Regions from separate parts of the Homo sapiens genome. Here regions 2 and 3 are each linked to region 1. Evidence: promoter capture Hi-C in human tissues and cell types (Jung and others, 2019). All regions are on one chromosome and are shown on one strand. Each heading gives the region's core, a stretch centred on a gene start or on the middle of the fragment in contact. The rest is flanking DNA. Distances are from core to core; before and after follow the strand shown.

Region 1 (3,178 bases), core at 411-2,910:
GCACAGACTCAATGAACCTGCTGTTCTAGATGCTACTTTTAGGGTAATTTGTTATGGCAGCAATGCAAAGGAAATACACACCAACGCACACACAGTCCCACGTCATGGGTGTCTTTTCCTCATTGTTTATTTCAACAAGGATTTCAAAAAGTAGAAAAATAAACATTTTCCTGGAGGTGAGTTGGATTTACATACACAAATACATAAATAGCGACTGGGTGACAATAAATTAAGCCAAGTGGCTAATTTATAAATAAAATCTCAGGTTGCATGACTGGCGGAAGGGTCAGACACACAGGTCCCCGCTGGCAACACAATTCAGGTCTCGCGTGAGGAGGCGGAAGAGGTTGAAGGTGACAGAGGCCTCGAGGCAGCCAGGGGACTCCTGTAGGGAGGAGGGGATGGGTCAGGGGCTGTCTGGGTTCTGGGCTCCCAGTGGCTCCCCAGACCTCAGTCCCTCTCTTCCCGGGTCACTCACCTTTTTTGGGGCCTCCTGGAGCCGGTGCAGCCAATGGTGGAGGCGGCCCCGGGTCCTGGGCCCTGCCGTGGGCTGAGGCTGGATCTGTGGGCAGAGGAGGGCGGTGTGTGAGCCGGGGCCTTGGCCAGGGGAAGGACGCTGCTCAGAGCTCACAGACCTGGGTGCCCGGGCCCTGACGACTCACACAGGCCCGGAGCTGGGAGAGGATATGGTGCAGGGTGTGAAGGGGCTGGTCCAAGACATCCCCCAGGGCTGGGTCAGTGTCAGCGGTGGCCTCCAGAACCTTCAGCGTCAGGGCCAGCTCAGCCTCCAAAGCCACGGGGCGCTCCCTCACCTGAGGAGAGGTGAGAAAGAGCAGGTGAGGGGGGAGGTGAGGGGAACAGGTTGGGGGAGGAGGATAGAGAGGAACAAGTGAAGGTGACAGGCACAGGGGAGAGGGCACAGCCAGTGTGGTCAGGTAGGAGCAGAGGGAAGGGGTAGCAGGTGTGGGGAGAGGAGAGAGGGACAATGGAGAAGGAGAAGGTGAAGGGGCCACTACAGAGCCAGGTGAGCAGGGCTGGGAGGGCAGGGGTGGGCCTGACTCCCCCTCTCACCTGCAGCTGCCTCAGGTCCCAGGTCCTGGGGAAGAGGCGGGAGCGGCACTTGCAGTCCTTCAGCAGAAGCGACTCTTCCTAGACAGCAAAGGCACAGGTTAGCCCCAGCAGGAGGGGTGGAGGTTAGACCACTCTGATGGGATTGGAGGATGGCTGACAACAGGATAGGGGAGGTTAACTGCTGGGAGGATGGTAGAGGACCCTCTTCTTCAGGAAAACATGAGTCAGTCCCTGCAGTAGGAGCATGAGATAGCCCACTGCAGGGAGGGTGGAGGCTAGCCCAGTGAAGGAAGCTGGGAGTGGGAAAGCATGGTGACCCTTGGAGTGCGGGTGGAGGCTAGTCCATGGCAGGAGGGCAGGGGGAGACTCACTAAGGCATCTTTGGCCCTCTTAAAGGCCTGCAGCTCCTGTGGAGACAGGGACTTGAACTGGGCTATGTGGCAGCCCCTTGCATCCGGGAGAGCCCCGCGGAGCCTGGCGACAGGAACTGCTCCAGTCACGGTCAGCACTGCGGCCATCAGCACCAGCACTGGCATGCAGTCCCCGGTCATGTCTGTGTCACAGAGAGAAAGGGAGCTGAGGGAATGCAGAGGCTGCCCACTGAGGGCAGGGGCTGCAGGAGCTGAGCACGGACAGAGATGTGGGACTCACCTAGTTTCATTCCTGATCTCTGGTCTTTGTCAGCAGAAGAAACACTCTGAGGCTGTCACCCAGGGTCTGTTTGGGTCTTGTCTGGAGTCTCTGTTCTTTTCAGTCCCCTCTTCTGGATCTCAGACTGTGTCCTGGCTTTGACTCTTTCTGTCAGTTTTGAGCTCTGTCTGGGATGTAATTCCTGCCTGAGCTCCATGGGGCAGCTTTTATCCCTGACAGAAGGGCAGTCCCAGCTGATGTAGGAAAAGTGAAAACACAGCCTCAGGTAAGACACCGGCCACCAGGGGAGCCCCAGGCTGGGAAAGCCCAGAGCAGGGCAGGGCTAGTGAGCCAGATGAGCAGCTGGAGGGAAAGAGAAACTGATGGAGACTCAGGGGTAACCTACAGGAAGGTATGTTCCCAAGAGGATTCCACCTGCTCTGGTTTTGTTGTTGTTTAAGACAGGGTCTCACTCTGTCACTGCAGTGCAATGGCATGATCACAGCTCACTGCAGCCTCAAACTCCTGGGCTCAAGCCATCCTCCTCACCCAGCCTATTAAAGTGCTGAGATTACAGGCCTGAGCCACCACTCCTGGCATATATATATATATATATATATATATATTTTGAGACAGGGTCTTGTTCGGTCACCCAGGCTGGAGTGCAGTGCAAAATCTTGGCTAACTGCAACCTCCGCCTCCTGGGTTCAAGCAATTCTCTTGCCTTAGCCTCCCAAGTAGCTGAGATTACAGATTTGTGCCACCATTCCCAGCTAATTTTTATATTTTTAGTAGAGATGGCGTTTCACCATGTTGGCAAGGCTGGTCTCAAATTCCTGATGTCAAGTCATCTCTCTGTCTAGGCCTCCCAAATTGCTGGGATTTCAGTGTGAGCCACCATGCCCAGAGGCCAATATTTCTTAATTGCCCAGGCAAGGAAGGACTCAGGAATATGAGGCTCTGCTCAAGAATTGAGGTGTGACGAAGGACTTGAAGGACACCACGTGGGTGCCGTCTTTCTTAGGGAAGTTCAGGCAGTGGTGAAGAGCATGGGTCTTGGAGATGAAGGGTCTGGGGTTCAAACCTGGTTCTGACCCTCACTAGCCGTGTGACCTTGGCAAGGAGGGGTGCATTCAGCAACGCAGATTGCTAATGCACAGATTTGGAGAAAAAATTAATAACACAATTGTTTGTGTATTTATGTGAGTGATTATTTAATAGAATCCACTCATTAAGACCATACTAGGACCTCAGCTGGAGAGTTTAAAACGTGATCTCAACGGACACTACTCCTCCACAAGGCAAGTATGCTAACCCATCCTATAGGTGAGGAAACAGAGGCTCAGAAAAGTAATTTGCCCTGAATTCCACTGTAATTAACTGGCAGGGTCAGAACTGAAACTCAGGCCACCTGAGTCCCTGGCTCGGCCTCTTTTTTTGCTGTAAGGTGCACCTCACAATCATCATACGGAAAACA
Region 2 (3,178 bases), core at 268-2,767, 44 kb after region 1:
TTTTCTATGTAATTGATTTCTCCACCTCTTTATGATTTCTTTCCTTCTGCTTGATTTGAGTTTACTTAGCTTTTTCTAGTTTCTTGAGGGAATGCCTTGTTTAGTAATTTGAGACTTTTCCTTCATTTTTTTGTTTTTTTGAGACAGAGTCTCGCTCTGTCATCCAGGCTAGAGTGCAGTGGTGCCATCTCGGCTCACTGCAACCTCTGCCTTCCAGGTTCAAGCGATTTTTGTGCCTCAGCCTCCCAAGTAGCTGGGGTTACAAGTGTGCACCACCACACCTGGCTAATTTTTGTATTTTTAGTAGAGACAAGGTTTCACCATGTTGGCCAGGCTGGTCTTGAACTTCCATCAAATGATTCACCCACCTCAGCCTCCCAAAGTGCTGGGATTACAGGCTTGAGCCACCACATCTGGCCATTTCTTCATTTTTAATATAAGCATTAAGTGCTATAAACTTCTCTCTAAGACTGCTTTAGTTGTATCCCACAAGTTTTGGGGGAGGTTTCTTCCTGTTTTTTTTTTTTGAGACAGGGTCTCATTGTGTCACCCAGGCTGGAGTGCAGTGGTGCTATCACTGCTCACTGCAGCCTCAACCTCCTGGGCTCAAGTGATCCTCCCTCCTCAGCCTCCCAAGTAGCTGGAACTACAGGTGCACACCACCACACCCAGCTAATTTTTAAATTTTTTGTAGGACCGTGTCTCCCTATGTTGCCCAGGCTGGTCTTGAACTCCTGGGCTCAAATGATCCTCCTACTTCAGCCTCCCAAATTGTTGAGATTACAGGCATGAGCCACTATGTCCAACCACGAGTTTTTATATGTTGTATTTTTGTCCTCATTCATTTTGGCTATTTTTTTTTTTTTTTTTTTTGAGATGAAGTCTCACTCTATCGCCCAGGCTGGAGTGCAGTGGCACAATCTTGACTCACTGCAACCTTCACTTCCCAGGTTCGAGCAATTCTCCCTGCCTCTGGCTCCCAAGTAGCTGGGATTACAGATTCCTGCCACCACACCTGGCTAATTTTTTGTACTTTTAGTAGAGACAGGGTTTCGCCATGTTGGCCAGGGTGGTCTGGAACCCCTGACCTCAGGTGATCAGCCCTCCTCAGTCTCCCAAAGTGCTGCGATTACAGGCATGAGCCACCCTGCCCAGCCTAACTTTTGTATTTTTGATAGAGGTGAGGTTTCACCATGTTAGCCAGGCTGGTCTCAAACTCCTGACCTCAAGTGAGCCACCCACCTCAGCCTCCCAAATGCTGAGATTAAAGTGTGAGCCATCACGCCTGGCCTCCATCCATTTACTTTTAACCTACCTATGTCATTATATTTGAAATGAGTTTCCTGTAGACAGCATACAGTTTTTTAAAATATATTCTGCCAATCTCTGTATATAAACCATTTGCATTTAATGTAATTACAGATATATTAGAACTTAAGTCTCCCATCTTATTTTTCTTCTGTTCCTTCTGTTTTTTATTCTTGTTTCCTTTTCATTGCCCTCCTGTGGATTACTAAGCTTTTTTTTAGTGTTTCATTTAGCTTTATCTATAGTTTTTTTTTTTTTAGTATATCTCTTTATATAGTTTTTTAGTGGTTGCTCTGGAATTACAGTATATATATAACATCACAATGCAATAGTATTAATATTTTATCTCTTCAAATGGAATGTAGGAAACATCACAATTTAGGTCCCTTTATCCTCCCTGATTTATAAATATATAGGTATCTTTATTTTGTGGTGGGGGAACAAAGTCTCGCTCCATCACCCCATTTGGAGTGCAGTCACAGCTCACCGCAGCCTCATCTCCCTGTCTCAGGTGGTCCTCCCACCTCAGCCTCCCAAGCAGCTGGGACCATGGGACCACAAGCACCTGCCACCACGCCTGGCTAATTTTTGTATTTTTGGTAGAGATAGGGTTTCGCCATGTTGCCTAGGCTGGTCTCAAATTCCTGAGCTTAAACAATACACCCACCTTGGCTCCCCCAAGTGCTGAAATCATAGGCATGAGCCACCATGCCCGTCCCCACTTTCTTTCTGTTCATCCAGAACATCAGTGATGTGAGTGTTAAAACTTAATGTACTAAAGGTCCCTGGAGCTCTTTTCTTTTCTCTTTTTTTAGAGACAGGGTCTCACATTGTCCCCCAGGCTGGAGTGCAGTGGTGCGATATTGGCTTGCTTTAACCTCCACCTCCCTGGAGTTCTTTTCATTTTTAAAAATCTACTTTCTATCCTTTGTTCATACTTCAATCTATTTGCTACTTACTCTCTGTTGTTCAGAATGAGTAATTTCTATTGACCTATCTTCAAGTTTTCTGATTCTTTCTTCTGCCATCTCCATTCTGCTATTTGGCCCTTTCAGTGAGTTTTACTTCAGTTCTTGTATTTTTCAGTTCTTATATTTCTCTGTTCTAAAATTTCCACTCAATTCTTTATACCTTCTATTTCTTTGATGAAACTTTCTATTAAAAATTTTTGTGTCAGCCAGGTGCAGAGGCTCACTCCTGTAATCCCAGCACTTTGGGAGGCTGAAGTGAGTGGATCACGAGGTCAGGAGATCGAGACCATCTTGGCTAACACGGTGAAACCCCGTCTCTACTACTAAAAATACAAAAAATTAGCCAGGCGTGGTGGCAGGTGCCTGTAGTCCCAGCTACTCAGGAGGCTGAGGCAGGAGAATGGCATGAACACGGGAGGTGGAGCTTGCAGCCACTGCACTCCAGCCTGGGCGACAGAGCAAGACTCTGTCTCAAAAAAAAAAAAAAATTGTGTCAAAAGTATTCATGATTGTTTGTTGAAGCATTTTTATGACAATTACTTTAAAATTATTGTCAGAGAGCCAGGCATGGTGGCTTACACCTGTAATCCCAGCTACTCGGAAAGCCAAAGAGGGACGATTATTTGAGGCCAGGAGTTTGAGGCCAGCCTGAGCAACAAAGTGAGATTTCACCCATATCTTAAAAAGCAAATAAATAAAAATTTTTTAAATATTTTTGTCCAATAATTTCAATATTTGTATCATTTTAGTGTTGGCATCTATTGATTGGCTTTTCCCATTCCACTTGAGATTTTCCTAGTTCTTGAGATGATGAGTATAACAAGTTATTTTCTCTTGTATCCTGGACTTTTGAGACATTACATTATGAAATGCTGGTTTCTTTTTTAATCTTGTCATTG
Region 3 (3,178 bases), core at 370-2,869, 48 kb before region 1:
GGGCAGGAAGTGCCTGTGAAAGCATGTGGAGTTATCTGGGACTATATGGGACCCAGCCTGGGAAGGCAGCTTCTGTTTCCATGGCACCCCTCACAGGGTTGTTGTATTGGAAAGACCCGTCCCAGAGGGCATCCGCCAGCACACAGCTGCACACACATGTTTGCTGTTACTTTTCCTTTACCTATAAAATGCCAGTCATAGTAGCACCCACCTTGTCTTTGTAGGAGAATGAAATGAACTTAGAGGCGCTCAGTAGAAAGCACTCACGCCTGTAATCCCAGCACTTTGGGAGGCCAAGGCAGGTGGATCACTTGAGGTCAGGAGTTTGAGACCAGTCTGATCAAGAGGGTGAAACCTCGTCTCTTCTAAAACTACAAAATTAGCTGGGTGTGGTGGCACATGCCTGTAATCCCAGCTACTCGGGAGGCTGAGGCAGGAGAATCACTTCAACCCGGGAGGCGGAGGTTGCAGTGAGCTGAGATCGTGCTTCTGCACTTCAGCCTGGGTGACAGAGTGAGACTCCATCAGAGAGAGAGAGAGAGAGAGAAGCAAGCGCTCAGTGCTGAGCTTACCTGGGCCAGGTAGAGGGATGTGGCCACGGGCAGGAAGTGGCTGTGGGAATCTGGCGCTACAGGTTCCTCTGCCACCCCACTTCCTCCACACCTGACCTCCTGTCCCCACCTGTGCCCCGTCCCTTGCTCCCACCTCCTCGTGACCTCTGATGGGGGAGGCTTCTGCAGCCCCCCACCCCAGTCCCAGGCAGGGGTGCAGGCCCCCAGAACACCCAGTTGGGATCACTGCTTCCCTCTCACTGCCATCTTTGTGCCTCCCTGGGGTCCCCCATCTCTGAGGCTCCTCATCTCTGGTTTTGGGTGTCTCTCTGCTCTCCTCACCTTGGTTTTCTGGACAGTATGTGTCAGGGCCCCAAGGGGGTGTCCCAGGTGAGGACAGAGAAGGAAGTGGCAGAGGCAGGACCTTCCCTTTGCACCTCAGCTCATCCATCCACTCCCCCTCTGCAGAGTGGGGAGGGGGAGGAGGGGGGTCTTCGTTAATTAGCCTCTTAATCCTGCCATGCTGGATCTTAATGAGGTGCACGGGTCCCATTAGACAGCCCGGAGCCCTGGCATTAGCACATTAGTCACACGCTCTGTCAGGCTCACGCTGGGTCCTCAGCTGGCCCTGGGAAAATTGGGGCAGGAAGTCTGGGGACCTAAGGAGGGGGCTGGTGCCTGGACTTCTGGGTCTGAAGAAGGAGGGGCTGGTGCCTGGACTCCTGGATCTGAGGGAGGACGGACTGGGGGCCTGGATTCCTGGGTCTGCGGGAAGAGGGGCTGGTGCCTGGACTCCTGGGTCTGAGGGAGGAGGGGCTGGGGTCTTGAATTCCTGGGTCTGAGGGAGGAGGGGCTAGGGGCCTGGACTCCTGGGTCTGAGGGAGGAGGGGCTGGGGTCTTGAATTCCTGGGTCTGAGGGAGGAGGGGCTAGGGGCCTGGACTCCTGGGTCTGAGGGAGGAGGGTCCGAGGGACAAGATCCTCCCCCGACACGCCCCTCTCTTAAATGTCAGCCAGGGTGCCCTGCCCCTTCCCGCTCCCAGTTAACCCCAGCCCTGTGAAACCGGGACAGTCGCGCAGCCTCGAGGGATGGAGGAGGTGCGTGAGGGACACGCGCTCGGTGGCGGGATGGAAGCCGATGGGCCCGCGAGCCTCCAGGAGCTGCCTCCCTCGCCACGGTCGCCTTCACCGCCGCCGTCGCCGCCACCACTGCCCTCGCCGCCGTCGCTGCCATCGCCCGCAGCCCCGGAGGCCCCCGAGCTCCCCGAGCCGGCGCAGCCGTCCGAGGCTCACGCCCGGCAGCTGCTGCTGGAGGAGTGGGGGCCGCTGAGCGGGGGCCTGGAGCTGCCCCAGCGCCTCACCTGGAAGCTGCTCCTGTTGCGGCGGCCGCTCTACCGCAACCTGCTGCGCTCGCCCAACCCCGAAGGTGCGCAAGGGCCCAGAGCAGCCAGGAGGCACCACCCTGACCGTCTGTCTCTTCCTCTTTCCCTGTTTCCTTATCTCTCTACCTCTTTGTCTCTCTCTGTCTATGCATTTCTCTGCATCCCTCTGTCTCTTTTTCTGTCATTGTGCCTCTCCATTTTACCACCTGTCTCTCTGTCATGTCTCTTACCTACCTCTCTCACACCTCTCCCTCACACCTCTCCATCTCTCTTTCTCTCTCCTCCTCTCTCTCTCCCCCTCTGCCTATGTTTCTGTCTCTTGAGACGGAGTCTTGCTGTCGCCCAGGCTGGAATGCAGTGGTGCAATCTCAGCTCACTGCAACCTCCGCCTCCCAGGCTCAGGCAATTCTCCTGCCTCAGTCTCCCGAGTAGCTGGGATTACAGGCATGCACCACCATGCCTGGCTAATTTTTGTATTTTTAGTAGACACAGGGTTTCGTCATGTTGGCCAGGCTGGGCTGGTTTCAAACTCTTGGCCTGTCTCTTTCTCTGGGTTCTTCTCTCTGTCCCTCTGTCTCTGTCTGTCTCACCACACCCCACTTACCCCTGGCATTGCCCTCTCCCCAGCCCAGAGCCCTGACTCACTCATCCCTGCCGGGCTTCCCTGACCTGGCACAGATTCCTGCCCTTCCAGTGTATAGCCCTGCGGGTAGGGAGGGGTGAGGCGGTGGAAGATGGAGGGGCTGCCCAGAGGCTCCACTCACCTGTCCATTTCAGGCATCAACATTTATGAGCCAGCACCCCCTACTGGTCCCACCCAGCGACCCCTGGAAACTCTGGGTAAGTGCTTGGAGGGCCAGGTTGCTGAGGGTGGGGAGGGTCCTCCAGCGTTGGGGTGTCCTAACCCTTTGCTCCCCAACCTGCAGGCAATTTCCGTGGCTGGTACATTAGAACTGAAAAGCTCCAGCAGAACCAAAGGTGAGTCGCCAGGGCCAGTGTGGCTTACACTCCATTCCCTGCTCCACCCTTCCTCACTGTGAGACCTGGAGAAACTGACTTGGCCTCTCTGGACCTCCATTTCCTGCTCTGTAAACAGGGTTAGCATAAGAGAGAATGCTTGTAAAACACACAGCATAGGGCCCGGCCAGGTCTGGCTAGCACCAGTCAATAGCAGCTATTATTGGTTTTTGGTTTTTGTTTTTAAGATGAAGTCTCACTCTGTTGCCCAGACTGGAGTGCAGTGACGC

The links. The method cuts DNA at HindIII sites, captures the fragments that hold promoters and counts their contacts. A contact is called where the count stands out against the background at its distance.
Region 2: a contact is called between a fragment that was not itself captured here and the fragment with the promoter of IFNL3 in region 1, in 7 of the 25 tissues and cell types used here (IMR-90 fibroblasts, dorsolateral prefrontal cortex, lymphoblastoid cells and 4 more).
Region 3: a contact is called between the fragment with the promoter of NCCRP1 here and the fragment with the promoter of IFNL3 in region 1, in 2 of the 25 tissues and cell types used here (lymphoblastoid cells and spleen).

The regions. Positions count from the first base shown.
Region 1 is chr19:39,243,346-39,246,523 of GRCh38, forward strand. It overlaps IFNL3 (interferon lambda 3), which reads right to left and starts at 1,661. Exons shown (of 5, transcript NM_172139.4): 1 at 1,443-1,661; 2 at 1,072-1,149; 3 at 663-812; 4 at 479-562; 5 at 208-385. The coding sequence starts at 1,622. The coding sequence ends at 287. It also overlaps the pseudogene IFNL4. The HindIII fragment of the contact is 34,684 bases long and covers 1-3,178 here.
Region 2 is chr19:39,287,882-39,291,059 of GRCh38, forward strand. No RefSeq gene overlaps it. Among named protein-coding and RNA genes, the nearest start is that of IFNL1, 6.9 kb to the right of the region's middle. The HindIII fragment of the contact is 5,296 bases long and covers 1-3,178 here.
Region 3 is chr19:39,195,345-39,198,522 of GRCh38, forward strand. NCCRP1 (NCCRP1, F-box associated domain containing) reads left to right here and starts at 1,620. Exons shown (of 6, transcript NM_001001414.2): 1 at 1,620-1,975; 2 at 2,709-2,771; 3 at 2,858-2,909. The coding sequence starts at 1,639. The HindIII fragment of the contact is 43,248 bases long and covers 1-3,178 here.